4 separate regions of the Homo sapiens genome follow, and all the other regions are linked to region 4. Evidence: promoter capture Hi-C in 16 types of primary human blood cells and fetal thymus (Javierre and others, 2016). All regions are on one chromosome and are shown on one strand. The core of a region is centred on a gene start or on the middle of the fragment in contact, and the rest is flanking DNA. Distances in the headings are between cores, read along the strand shown. Region 1 overlaps NIBAN1 (niban apoptosis regulator 1). Region 2 overlaps SWT1 (SWT1 RNA endoribonuclease homolog). Region 3 overlaps LOC105371649 (a long non-coding RNA gene). Region 4 holds the start of NIBAN1 (niban apoptosis regulator 1).

What was found. The method cuts DNA at HindIII sites, captures the fragments that hold promoters and counts their contacts. A CHiCAGO score of 5 or more calls a contact.
Region 1: a contact is called between a fragment that was not itself captured here and the fragment with the promoter of NIBAN1 in region 4, in 8 of 17 cell types (total CD8 T cells, neutrophils, naive CD8 T cells and 5 more). The highest score is 13.3, in total CD8 T cells.
Region 2: a contact is called between a fragment that was not itself captured here and the fragment with the promoter of NIBAN1 in region 4, in 2 of 17 cell types (megakaryocytes and erythroblasts). The highest score is 7.4, in megakaryocytes.
Region 3: a fragment that was not itself captured here is called in contact with the fragment with the promoter of NIBAN1 in region 4 in 6 of 17 cell types (neutrophils, monocytes, megakaryocytes and 3 more); the score reaches 13.9 in neutrophils.

The regions. Positions count from the first base shown.
Region 1 is chr1:184,842,157-184,844,856 of GRCh38, forward strand. The region is part of intron 5 of NIBAN1 (niban apoptosis regulator 1); the gene reads right to left. Among named protein-coding and RNA genes, the nearest start is that of EDEM3, 89 kb to the left of the region's middle. RefSeq lists a silencer at 1,698-1,787. The HindIII fragment of the contact is 915 bases long and covers 937-1,851 here.
Region 2 is chr1:185,174,130-185,176,829 of GRCh38, forward strand. It overlaps SWT1 (SWT1 RNA endoribonuclease homolog), which reads left to right. Exons shown (of 19, transcript NM_017673.7): 5 at 243-984. Among named protein-coding and RNA genes, the nearest start is that of SWT1, 18 kb to the left of the region's middle. The HindIII fragment of the contact is 1,887 bases long and covers 446-2,332 here.
Region 3 is chr1:184,759,296-184,761,995 of GRCh38, forward strand. The region is part of intron 2 of LOC105371649 (a long non-coding RNA gene); the gene reads left to right. Among named protein-coding and RNA genes, the nearest start is that of EDEM3, 5.8 kb to the left of the region's middle. The HindIII fragment of the contact is 8,455 bases long and covers 1-2,700 here.
Region 4 is chr1:184,973,130-184,975,829 of GRCh38, forward strand. NIBAN1 (niban apoptosis regulator 1) reads right to left here and starts at 1,379. Exons shown (of 14, transcript NM_052966.4): 1 at 1,173-1,379. The coding sequence starts at 1,227. RefSeq lists an enhancer at 564-733 and a silencer at 844-1,163. The HindIII fragment of the contact is 8,420 bases long and covers 1-2,700 here.

The sequences.
Region 1 (2,700 bases), core at 144-2,643, 130 kb before region 4:
AATGATTCACATTGTCTTAACGATTGCCTTCCCTACTGTTGTAAAGAGATACTGAAGGGAACTGATGTACTCTACCCCAGTGCTTCTCAGATTTTGGTGAGCATCAACATCACCTAGCAGGCTTGCTAAAACAGATAGCTGGCCCCCACTCCCAGAGTTTCTGATTCAATAGGTCTGGGGCAGGGCCCAAGAATTTGCATTTCTAAGAAGCTCCCGAGGTGATGCTGATGCTACAGGTCCAGGAACACACTTTGAGAACCACTCCTCTACCCAGCATTAGGAGAGTGGTTCTCAAATCAGAATCACTTGTGGTAAGGCCGGGCATGGTGGCTCACGCCTGTAATCCCAGTACTTTGGGAGGCCGAGGCAGGCGGATTACCTGGGGTCAGGAGTTTGAGACCAGCCTGGCCAACATGGTGAAGCCCCGTCTCTACTAAAAATGAAAAATTAGCCGGGCGTGGTGGCGGGCGCCTGTAATCCTAGCTACTCTAGAAGCTGAGGCAGGAGAATCACTTGAACCCGGGAGGCGGAGGTTGCAGTGAGCCGAGATTGTGCCTTTGCACGATCGTGCCATTGCAGCCTGGGCGACAAAAGTGAAACTCTGTCTCAAAAAAAAAAAAAAAAAATCCATTCTTGGTTTTGCCATAGATATTCTGATTCAACAGACCTGGAATTGGATCCAGGAATCTGTATTTAAACAAGCTCTTCAGGTAATTCTGTTGCAGTTGATTTACACATCACGTTTGAGAAAAAAAAAATGACACAAAAGCAAAGGTGATAGTAGAAGACCATGGTTCTTGAATGCTTAGCGTCTTGATGACCTTGTTCCCTCCTTAGCAGGTTACAAAAGGTCTACTCTGTCAACTGCTCACCCACTTAACACAAATGAACCCTCGCATTTAGTCAAAGTGATGGTTAAAAATAGTACCACAATGAAGCTTTATCAAAAAATATGTGGATAAGGAATCAACACTTCAGGTGGGTTCATGAGGACGCCATTCCAAACAACTAGAACTCTACCCATGGTGGAACCCCTTCCTCCTCCCTTCGGAAGCAGTCATCATTGTCTGGATGTAAATCCCCAGATGTAACCCTGATTGATCTCATTTTCTCTTTTCTGGCACTCAGTGGATATGTGGATTATAGCTTGTCTGTGATAGCTTTCTTTCCCTAGCATGAATGATCTGTTTCTTTACCATAAGTTTTTTTTCAAAGCCTTACAGATATGAAAATGACCCACACTCCAGTCTTTTCTAAAAAGTATGGATGGTGTCATCAGACACTTTCCCCCCCGCAAAAAAAAAGAGAGAATATTTGCTTCTTTCCAAATACCATCAAAATACTCTGTGTGCTGAAGTTGTGATTCATTGAACATGCTTTCCATACACCTGAAAGAGTTAATCTATCACCCCGTGTGCCATAGCCACCGGAGCAAAGTCAGGCCAAGAGAACAATGACACAATCAATTATTTCCTATCTTCCCTGGACAAATCTATATGGCTTTGTATGGGAAGATTTGTATTCTAAGACAGTGAGTGCAAAACTATCTCCCAATCCCTTGATAATTATTTATGGAGATGCTGCTGAGATGACCTCTGGAGAAAAAAATTACACCACAAAACCTAAGCAAAACAAATGAAAACCATCTAATTCCCTCTTTAAAAATGTGAATTTGAAAAAGTGCCCACCATATAATGTTTTACAGGCAGGTGTGGCCATCACACACCCGGGTTATCTTTCAGCTCAGACCACAGAAACTGGGTCACGTGCCTCTCAGTGACGTTGTGGGCATCTGTGTGGCTTACTCTCTGCAGGCAAGTTTACTACACAACTTGGATACGATTTAAAGCAAGCTTGACTGTTCAAACAAATAGGGAAGATGCTTCTTTAGTCACGACTTGTCCTTCATTTTTGATGACACTTTCTCTTATTTCTGGAAATGCTGTTGACAAACGGGTCTTGGTATAATTTATCACTGTAGCACATAAAAATACTAGGGACATTCTTCCTGACTGATTCTATGGATTACCTGCATCTTGTGAAATCAGAACACCTTAGTCTTACCAACATCTGTGAGAGCACACTTTCTACAAGTAAAGGCAGACAGTAAAATAACTTGGCTAGCTTTACATGAGAGAACAAATCACTGGCATTAATTGGCATCACTCATCATGTCCTAGCCTAACACACCTACAGAGTGTAGCACTGTCTGATGATGCTATCTGGGAATATTCTACTCATCATCATTACCAATGATTAATAATAGCATCTACCTTGAACTTGTCAGAGGCTTTTACAATTTACAACATTTCATTTGATTCTCACTGCAATCTCATGAGACAGGTAAGCCAGATGTAATCATTTCTGGTAGAAAATGGAAAAAACTGAAATCGAAGAAGTTTATGTCATTGCCCAAGGTCATATGAATAAATAACTCATTTTATCAGGTCGGAAAATAAGAATAAAAATAATAGGCACAATATAGATTTCTAGTCCCATGCAGATTCAGCTCCAAAAAGGAGCTAACCTTACTTAAAACTTTTAACTACTGCAGTTTACCCTTGTCTAGGACAATACATCCCAGCTTCATTATTCGTAACCTTTTTCCAAAGACCTAAGAAATTAAACTGACCCATGATCCATTTTCTTCCTAAGAAGGAGGGATGGCAGCCACATACTCCTGCAAACCCATCACCCTGC
Region 2 (2,700 bases), core at 139-2,638, 200 kb after region 4:
TTAGTCCATTTGGAATTTATGTTGTTTGTTACTATTTAAAGTTGTAATTTTTTTTTCCAAATAGCAAACTAATTATTCTAACACCATTAAGTGAGTAATCCTTTCCACTTCATTCTTAATGTAGCTATTTCTACTTTTTATGAAGCTTAATGTCAGCCCAATTCTGTTATTCTAACTAAAATGATAGAGTGCAACATTATGTATAATTATAATGTAACCTAGGTTTCTGTGCTGTTTTACAGATTGAGTGTAGAAATTGACACTCTCAGAAGGAGACCAAAAATCGGTTCTTCATCCCAAAGACCTATTAAACTCAAAGAAGCATCATATTCAAATGATAATCAAATTATTTTGCAGAGTCCTTCTTCAAATGGAACTAAAAAAGACATACATAAATGTGTAGACTTTAAACCTAAAGATATCAAATTGACAAATGCTGGGAGCAAGCTTGACCATGGAATTAAAAGCCTTAGTAGTCCTAAGATTGCCAGTGATGTGAAACCTAAAGCCGAAGGCCAGGCAAGTGAAAATAAATGGTCTCATTTACTTGTTCAGAGAGAGAAGATGAAAGAACTCAAGAAAGGAAGAAACAGTAAATTTAGAGACAATTCTGAAAAATGTGTCTTAGAGAAATGGAAGAGAAATCAATTTTCTCAGGATTATAACTCCAACAAGATAATTAAGGAACCCTTGGGATCTAGAAGACAGAAGATCAGTTTCAAAATCCCTATAAAATCCCGTGACACCCTCCAGAAACTTGTAGAAGAAAATGTCTTCAACATAGATTCTAATAATTCGAAGACTAAGCAGGAAGAAAGAGAATACCTGGAAAGCTCCCAGGTTTCATTAAATGTGACTAGGCAGAAAACTGAACATTTACTTTCAGATTTTACATATAAGCGGACTGTTCATGAGTGGAAACGAAAACATCATTATGACCATCAAGAAAGTAATGATTCACATTCTAGGGAAAACCTAACCCAGGTAAGGTAGTAAAAAATGAAGAATATAGGTTTTAACTGAGAGTTTATTAATATAGTTAAGTTTTTTCTGTATTTCTATATTTTTTTCTGTTTTTTTTTTTTTTTGTTGTTGTTTGTTTTTTGTTTTTGAGACAGGGTCTCACTCCGTTGCCCAAGCTGGAGTGCATGCAGTGGCACGATCCTGGCTCACTGCAGCCTTGACCTCCTGGGTTCAAGCAATCCTCCTGCCTCAGCCTCCCTAGTAGCTGGGACTATAGGCACACATCACCGCACTGGGCTAACTTTGGTGTTTTTTGCAGAGATGAGGTTTCACCATGTTGCTTAGGCTGGTCTTGAACTCCTGGGCTGAAGCAGTTCGCCCCTGCTCAGCCTCCCAAAGTGCAGGGATTACAGACGTGAGCCACTGCACATGGCCTTTTTAGTTGTTTCTATTACTGATGATAATCATAGATGGCTGATTCAAATTTATTCATGAAGATATGTGTTGGTTTCTTTATTTTACTCTCTTTAATTCCAACTTTTTTAGGAAGATATTTTGGCAGGTATCAAGGATTCATAATAGAAAGGAATGTGTAAAAATGTGGTGAGAAGCAGTTATAGATAGTCCTTTGAAAAAAGCATTGTATGCTGGAGAACACTCGGGACAATATTCTGAATAGTCTTTAAACAGTTTATTTTTTTCAGTGTCACCGTGTACCAGGCACCACAATAAAATAGCTTGTAAGAGATAACACAGTTTGTTTTCAGGGACTTATTCAAGTGAAGAGAGACACAAGCAATTTCCTTAAATAGGAAAAGTATAATACCTATCACTTAATAAGAGAATACACAGCAGGGGATTAATATAGCTTTGGTACATCATGAAAGAATTAGTTTAGAAAGGTATACTGGAGGGGACTGGATACAATGGCTCACGCCTGTAATCCCAGTGTTTTGGGAGGCCCAGGCAGGCAGATTGTCTGAGGCCAGGAATTCAAGACCAGCCTGGGCAACATACCGAGACGGGTCTCAACAAAAACATAAAAATTAGCTGGGTGTGGTGGCGTGAGTCTGTGGTCCCAGCTATTCAGGTGACTGAGGTGGGAGGATCACTTGAGCCCAGGAGCTCAAGGTTATGGTGAGCTGATCATGTAACTGCACTCCAACCTAGGTGACAGAAAGAGACCTTGTCTCCAAAAAAAAAAAAAAAAAAAAAAAAAAAAGATTTACTGGAGGCTGGAGGGAGTAACATTTAAACAGACCTAAAGAATGAGTCGAAGTTACTTAAGTGGAGGTGAAGTGAGGTAGAATGGGAGAAGCCGGGATATTTTAGGCAGAGGGAGCTACATGAGCAGGGATCTAGGCTAGAAAGCTTGGCACATCTATTTTGCTTTAAAATTATGTAATGTAATTGCCATTTATGGACTACTTTGAGAACCTAATCTCTATAATTTTGTTTCTATGTCAAATAAAGTTACTTATCTTCAAGAGAACTTTCAGAACTGTGGAACCTTGGAATTTTAGAACTTCAGAAATTCTGAAATGTAGAGACCACTGATAAACAGGGATGGTTAAGCCTACCTGCTTTTAGGTATTAAGACTGTGGACTGTGGCCAGGCCTGGTGCCTCACACCTGTAATCCCAGCACTTTGGGAGGCCGAGGTGGGCGGATCACGAGGTCAGGAGATCGAGACCATCCTGGCTAACACAGTGAAACATCATCTCTACTAAAAATACA
Region 3 (2,700 bases), core at 134-2,633, 210 kb before region 4:
GCCTTGTAGCTTATGTAAATATGCATGCTCACTTTCCTGCTTGGATGTGTCAGAAGTTAGGGAGGGATAGGAGCCCTGGGTAGAACCATATGGATTCAAAAACACAGGGAGGGGCTCCATTTTAATATTATGGCTCAGAAATAGTCCTAGGAAGCTGGGACCAGCTGTGCAAAACTGGTCATAGAACAGCAGTTGCCCCTAAATGATTTGAATTCTTTAGTACTACAGTTCTAATTACTCCTGAAACTAGTATGGAATTTGGGAGTGGTGATTTTGTCATTCTTCAAATTGCTTTTCCTATTCTTTGATAGCATGCAGAATTGACAACAGTTTTCTTCTAGAGAACCCAATCTTGCAAACATTAAATAAAGACAGTAATTATTCTGCATTCACAATTAGTGACTTTGAGGCCTTAGAAAGAGCACCTCATGACAAAGATACTCGGTGAATGTCGTCAACTGACTTCCTGCGTGGCTGTCGGACTGATTTTTTCAAATTCTAAGAAAGAGAATGAGAGATTCAGATGATTCACCTCCCCAAAAGATGTCCCCAGGGCTTTTTCCACCTCTCCATCTTGATTTGAGATCTTCAAAATCACTTCACCTTCAGATTATTATCCCATTTCTCTCACTGGCACTAGCTCCAACTCTCTCAGGCAAGAAAGTTTGCTCATGTGTCATGATTATTTGGTTGGGTCACTTATTTAGTGGCCATTTTCCATTTACTTCAAGTATCAGAAGCAAAACCAAGTCACATGGCTCTTCGAGGGAGTACATTTTGTGTTTGTTCCCTCTCTTAAATCCCCATTTCACCATCAGCATAGTTCCCACTTATTGGTACAGTGTGGCCACAGGATTTAGGTGAGCACCATTCAACAACAGTTGCACAGGTACCATTCAGGCCAAGAACAATGGCTCTGAGACAGCTCTGCTGATTATTGGCTGGGCTTCCTTAAGCAAATGACTAAATCTCTGTGCTTTTGTTTCCTCATTTGTAAAATGAGAATAAGAATAATACCTACCTCACAGCATTTTTAGAAAGATTAAATGGTTTAATTGTTATGCCTTCCTTTTAGGGATGTTGTGAAGATAATGAGATGGTGTGTGTAAAATATTTAGTACAGTTTGAAGGAACTCAATAAATAGTAGGTATCCATATCATGATTATGAGGTAAAGAGAAAACATCGCCATTGTTGAGAGTAGGATTCAAGGGTGAGTGCAGCTGCTCCAACAGCACCCATGGCTCTGGTTTTATTTTCAGCCCTGAATCTTTTTTTCTTTTTTAATTATTATTTTTTTAAAAACAGAGAGAAAGAGAGACAGGGTCTCACCATGTTGCCCAGGTTGGTCTTGAGATCCTGGACTCAAGCGATCCTCCCACTTCCGCCTCCCAAAGTGCTAGGATTACAGGTATGAGCCACCATGCCTGGCCCCAGCCCTGAATCTTGTCTACTTCCTTTGCTTGCTTACTTCGTGCTGCCATTGCAGGCTCCCCATCCAAAAATGTAGCCCTCTTTAGGCCAGCAACTCCAGAGACTGTTGAATTCAGGCACAGTTTGTATGAGCTATAGCGCCTCATCCCTGTATTAGAGTAAATACGCACAAAAACACAAGGTACTTTTCTGTCCTCTTAAAATTAATAATGGCTTCATTTGTAAGACATTTGAAGTTATAAACGTTCTGGAATAAAGTTGTCAGAAAATCTTTGCAGCTTTTTTGTTTGTGTGACTTTCTTCAGTTTTACTTTGTTTTTGTAAAAGCTCATCTTACCTCCAACCTCCAAGGGATTTAGAAAGATAGTTTTACTGGTTATCTAATTATGAAATTAAGGATCAAAGTGAAAGGTGCCCAGTTGATCTTGTCAAAAAGCATTAGGTAGAGTAATCCCCAACATTAGGACACTTAAGAATTAAAAATAAGTTATTTCTGTAATGATCCTATCATTTCTCATTATCCAAATCCGACATTCTTCCTAGAATTGTTATCCAAACCCTGTGTTCTTCCTAGGAGCTCCCTTTGCATACATATACATATATGTTTTGTATATGAGTATATATAAATATATACACATATACAATATACATATATTGCACATGTATGTATTTGTATACACATACTTGTAGTACTGTCTTTTCACCCTTTCTTCCTGTTCTTGTAATCCTCAGAGTGGTCCAAATTTGTCAATCCCCAGCATTTCTTAACCTCAGAGGTAAATGCTGACAGTCCTTAAATATTTGAAATTAAATATTTCCTGGCCTCCAGCTTAAAGTTCTATGAAAACAGTGCTTATTTCTGTTTCTTCTCCAAATGTATTGATAAGTTTGGAGTTTTTTTGGTTGGGATTGTTTTTTGCTTGATTTTTTACAGGTAGGGCTTTTAGGTAATAAGTGGGGGTAGTAAAGGTTTGTGATGGATGAGAAGTAGAATAAAGAGTTCTTGGTTTATTTGCAGATCAATCTCTTTGTGATACTTTAAAATCAGTATACAACCTTCAAATACATGATTATACTTAAAACTTTGAGAGAGTGGTGTTAGATACACGGCTTTCTTGAAGATCACCATATTTTTCTTGGCACTAGATGATGAGGCAAGTATAGTTTCATTGTGCACAAAATGTACTATTTTTCATCCATTGCTAGAGATTAATAGACATTATTATTTACAGAAGTAGCTCTTAAGCAAATATAATCTTCAGAGCCT
Region 4 (2,700 bases), core at 129-2,628:
TTAACAAACAAAAGCAAAGAGATACTTGACCAAGTGTTATCCCCTGACAGTACAGGTTGTTGAGGATCTTTTACCTCCAAAAGCACCAGAGCAGGAATCTGTAAAATCAGCTCCGTTGCTCTTCACGTACCCTGATTTGATATCTTTTTAAAACGGTCTTAAATGTTGTGGTGACTGAAAACAAATGTGGAATAAGAACACCAAATAAATGATTTCCTCTTAGGAAAGGATTCAAGGGCCAAATAAACCTAGAGTTTAATACATAGTCTGGAAGATATTTCTGAAGCCGAGGGTGGGGGATCTGGCGGCGGGGCGGGGGAAAGACAGTAAATTGGTAAGATAACCAAATGTTAGGTAGCGGTTGAAGGCAAGTTTGGGGTGGGGGGTGAGAAGAGGGGAGGCCAAATACGCCCAGGAAATAAAGGAGATAACGAGTCAGGACTTCCTGCAGTTTCAGTTCGGTTTGGGTTTTGTTTTGTTTGTTTTGCAGCCTCACGCTCTCTACTGAGTCCCCACATCTCTGAGGGTCTCCCTAAATGAGTTTCTCCCCATCTGTAACTTTCGGGCAGTTACAAAGCACGCCAGTGTTCCTCTTTTGCTTCGCCCCTCTCCGGGGCGGGAAGGGAACGGCATGACATTGTCCTTTTTGCCGCTGATGAAATCATCCTGCAAGTGCTAGGATGAAGTGCGAGCGAAGCTGCGGCCAACGCCGCGCTTTCCAAAGCCAGGCCAACATTACTAAGAGGGAAATTCTGCTTTAGCTGCCGGGAATCCCCAGGGGTATCTCTAGAAACGCGGGATATCCCCGCTGCTCTCTTGGCGGCCAGTTCAGAAACCGCTCAGAACTCAGTCCAGGGCAGGTACTGGAGGGCGAAGTGCGCCGGGCGGGGGCGGCACTGACCCCGAGGCGGCGGGAGCGGCGAAGGCGCCGGCGTCCCCACCCGCATCCTGCACCTGCCTCGCTCCCAAGCCCTCCCGGTCCCCGGTCCACACCCGCGCCGGAGCGCGCCGGCTGGGGCAGGAAACCCGACTCGCGCGGGCGGGCTGCGGTCGGGGATCCCCGCGCGCTACAGGGAGAGGGCCCGGGGCGCGCCCCTTGGGGCCCCGACCGCGGCAGCCAGCCTGGTGCACGGGTCAGGGTGCTCCCCAGGCCCCCGGGCGGGCGGGCGTACCTCGGATGTAAGCGCACTTGCCCTCGTCCAGCTGGCTGGAGGCTGAGCCGCCCATGACCGCGAGCTGCCTGTGCTGAGCGCGGAAACTGCCCGGTCCGCGCCCGCTGCTAGCTCCTGGAGGTTGATCCGACGGCGAACCCGGCTCTGAAATTAAGAGCAAACTTCCTTCGAGAGGCGAGAGACAGGAGGCAAGAGGCGTCGCCTTCTGGGGCGCCTCCTCCAGGTCCGCGCCTTCTGATGATCCGTGGGCCGGCCCGGGGGCTGTCTTCCCGCCCTCGCCTAGCTGGTGAGCTCCGACGGGCTGGCAACCGAGGAGGTCGGCCAGCTCCTCCTCCTCGCCCACGGTCACTTCTTGTTTTCATCCCTTTGGGGCATCCAAGAAACACCTTGGAGGAAGTGGACCATTTCTCAAGTGACTAAATCTCTGTGAGCTGGAACTTTCCCAGCTCACATCCTTCGAGGTGGAGCTCAAGATCACGTTGCCTTGTAAGTGTTGCTGTCCAAGAAGCAACAGTTCTTCCCAAGCATTACCTGGGAGCCTGTTAGAAATACAAAATCTCAGCGCTTTCGTCCACCACCCCTCTACACACACACAGACACACACACACTTAGAATCTGTGGGAGTGGAGCCCAGCAATCTGTGTTTGCACAAACCCTCCAGGGAATTCTGATGCCCGCTGAAGTTTGAGAACTAGAGGTAAACTATACCTTTCTGCAGGCGAGAACCTGGACCAAGGAGGGAGTGGGGAAATGAGGAAAAAAGGAAAGAGAAAAAAAAATGGAAAGACAGGGAAAAACTAAGGCTTGGTCCTGCAATATACTCCCAGCCCTGAAACTTCCTAAGACTTGATGAACGTCTGTCCTTACCCCTTTACTTTCCATTCCTCTCCTTAACTGGAAATCAATCATTAGAAAAGATATTTGTTCTTTTCCCACAACCACTATTTAGCTTGGCAGCCTCTCGGAACAAGACCCACTTGGGCAGAGGGGTCACCGCTGATTTCATCCTATTCTTAGTAGTCAGTTATTTTGCGACTCCTATTGACTTAACCTCAAGGTCAAATGGTCTGTATACACTAGAACCAGGCCTGAGGAGGACTTTGAAGGCTTTCCCACACACCCCCGCCTTCCCTATTAGCTAACTTGCACTTTAACACAATTATTTCATCACACTCACACCCAATCTCTCACACTCTACATTCCAATCTGTCAGTAAATCCTGTCAATTCAGCTTTTAAATATGTCCAATAGCCAACCAATTCTCATCCCCTCTACTGACATCCCATATCATTCCTCACCTTATTCATTACACTAGCTGCCTAACTGATCTACCTTCTTCAGAGAAAAGCCACGACGTCTATCAGGGCCTAGGTGGAGTTTCCTCTGTGATCTTCTCTACCACCACTCCTTGTTCTCTCTGTTCCAGCCCTACTAGCCTTTTTTTTTACTCTTTCTGAGACACATCAAGCTCAGGGCCTTTGCACTTGTTTTTCATTTCTGTAGGATGCTCTTCCTTCAGATATTCACA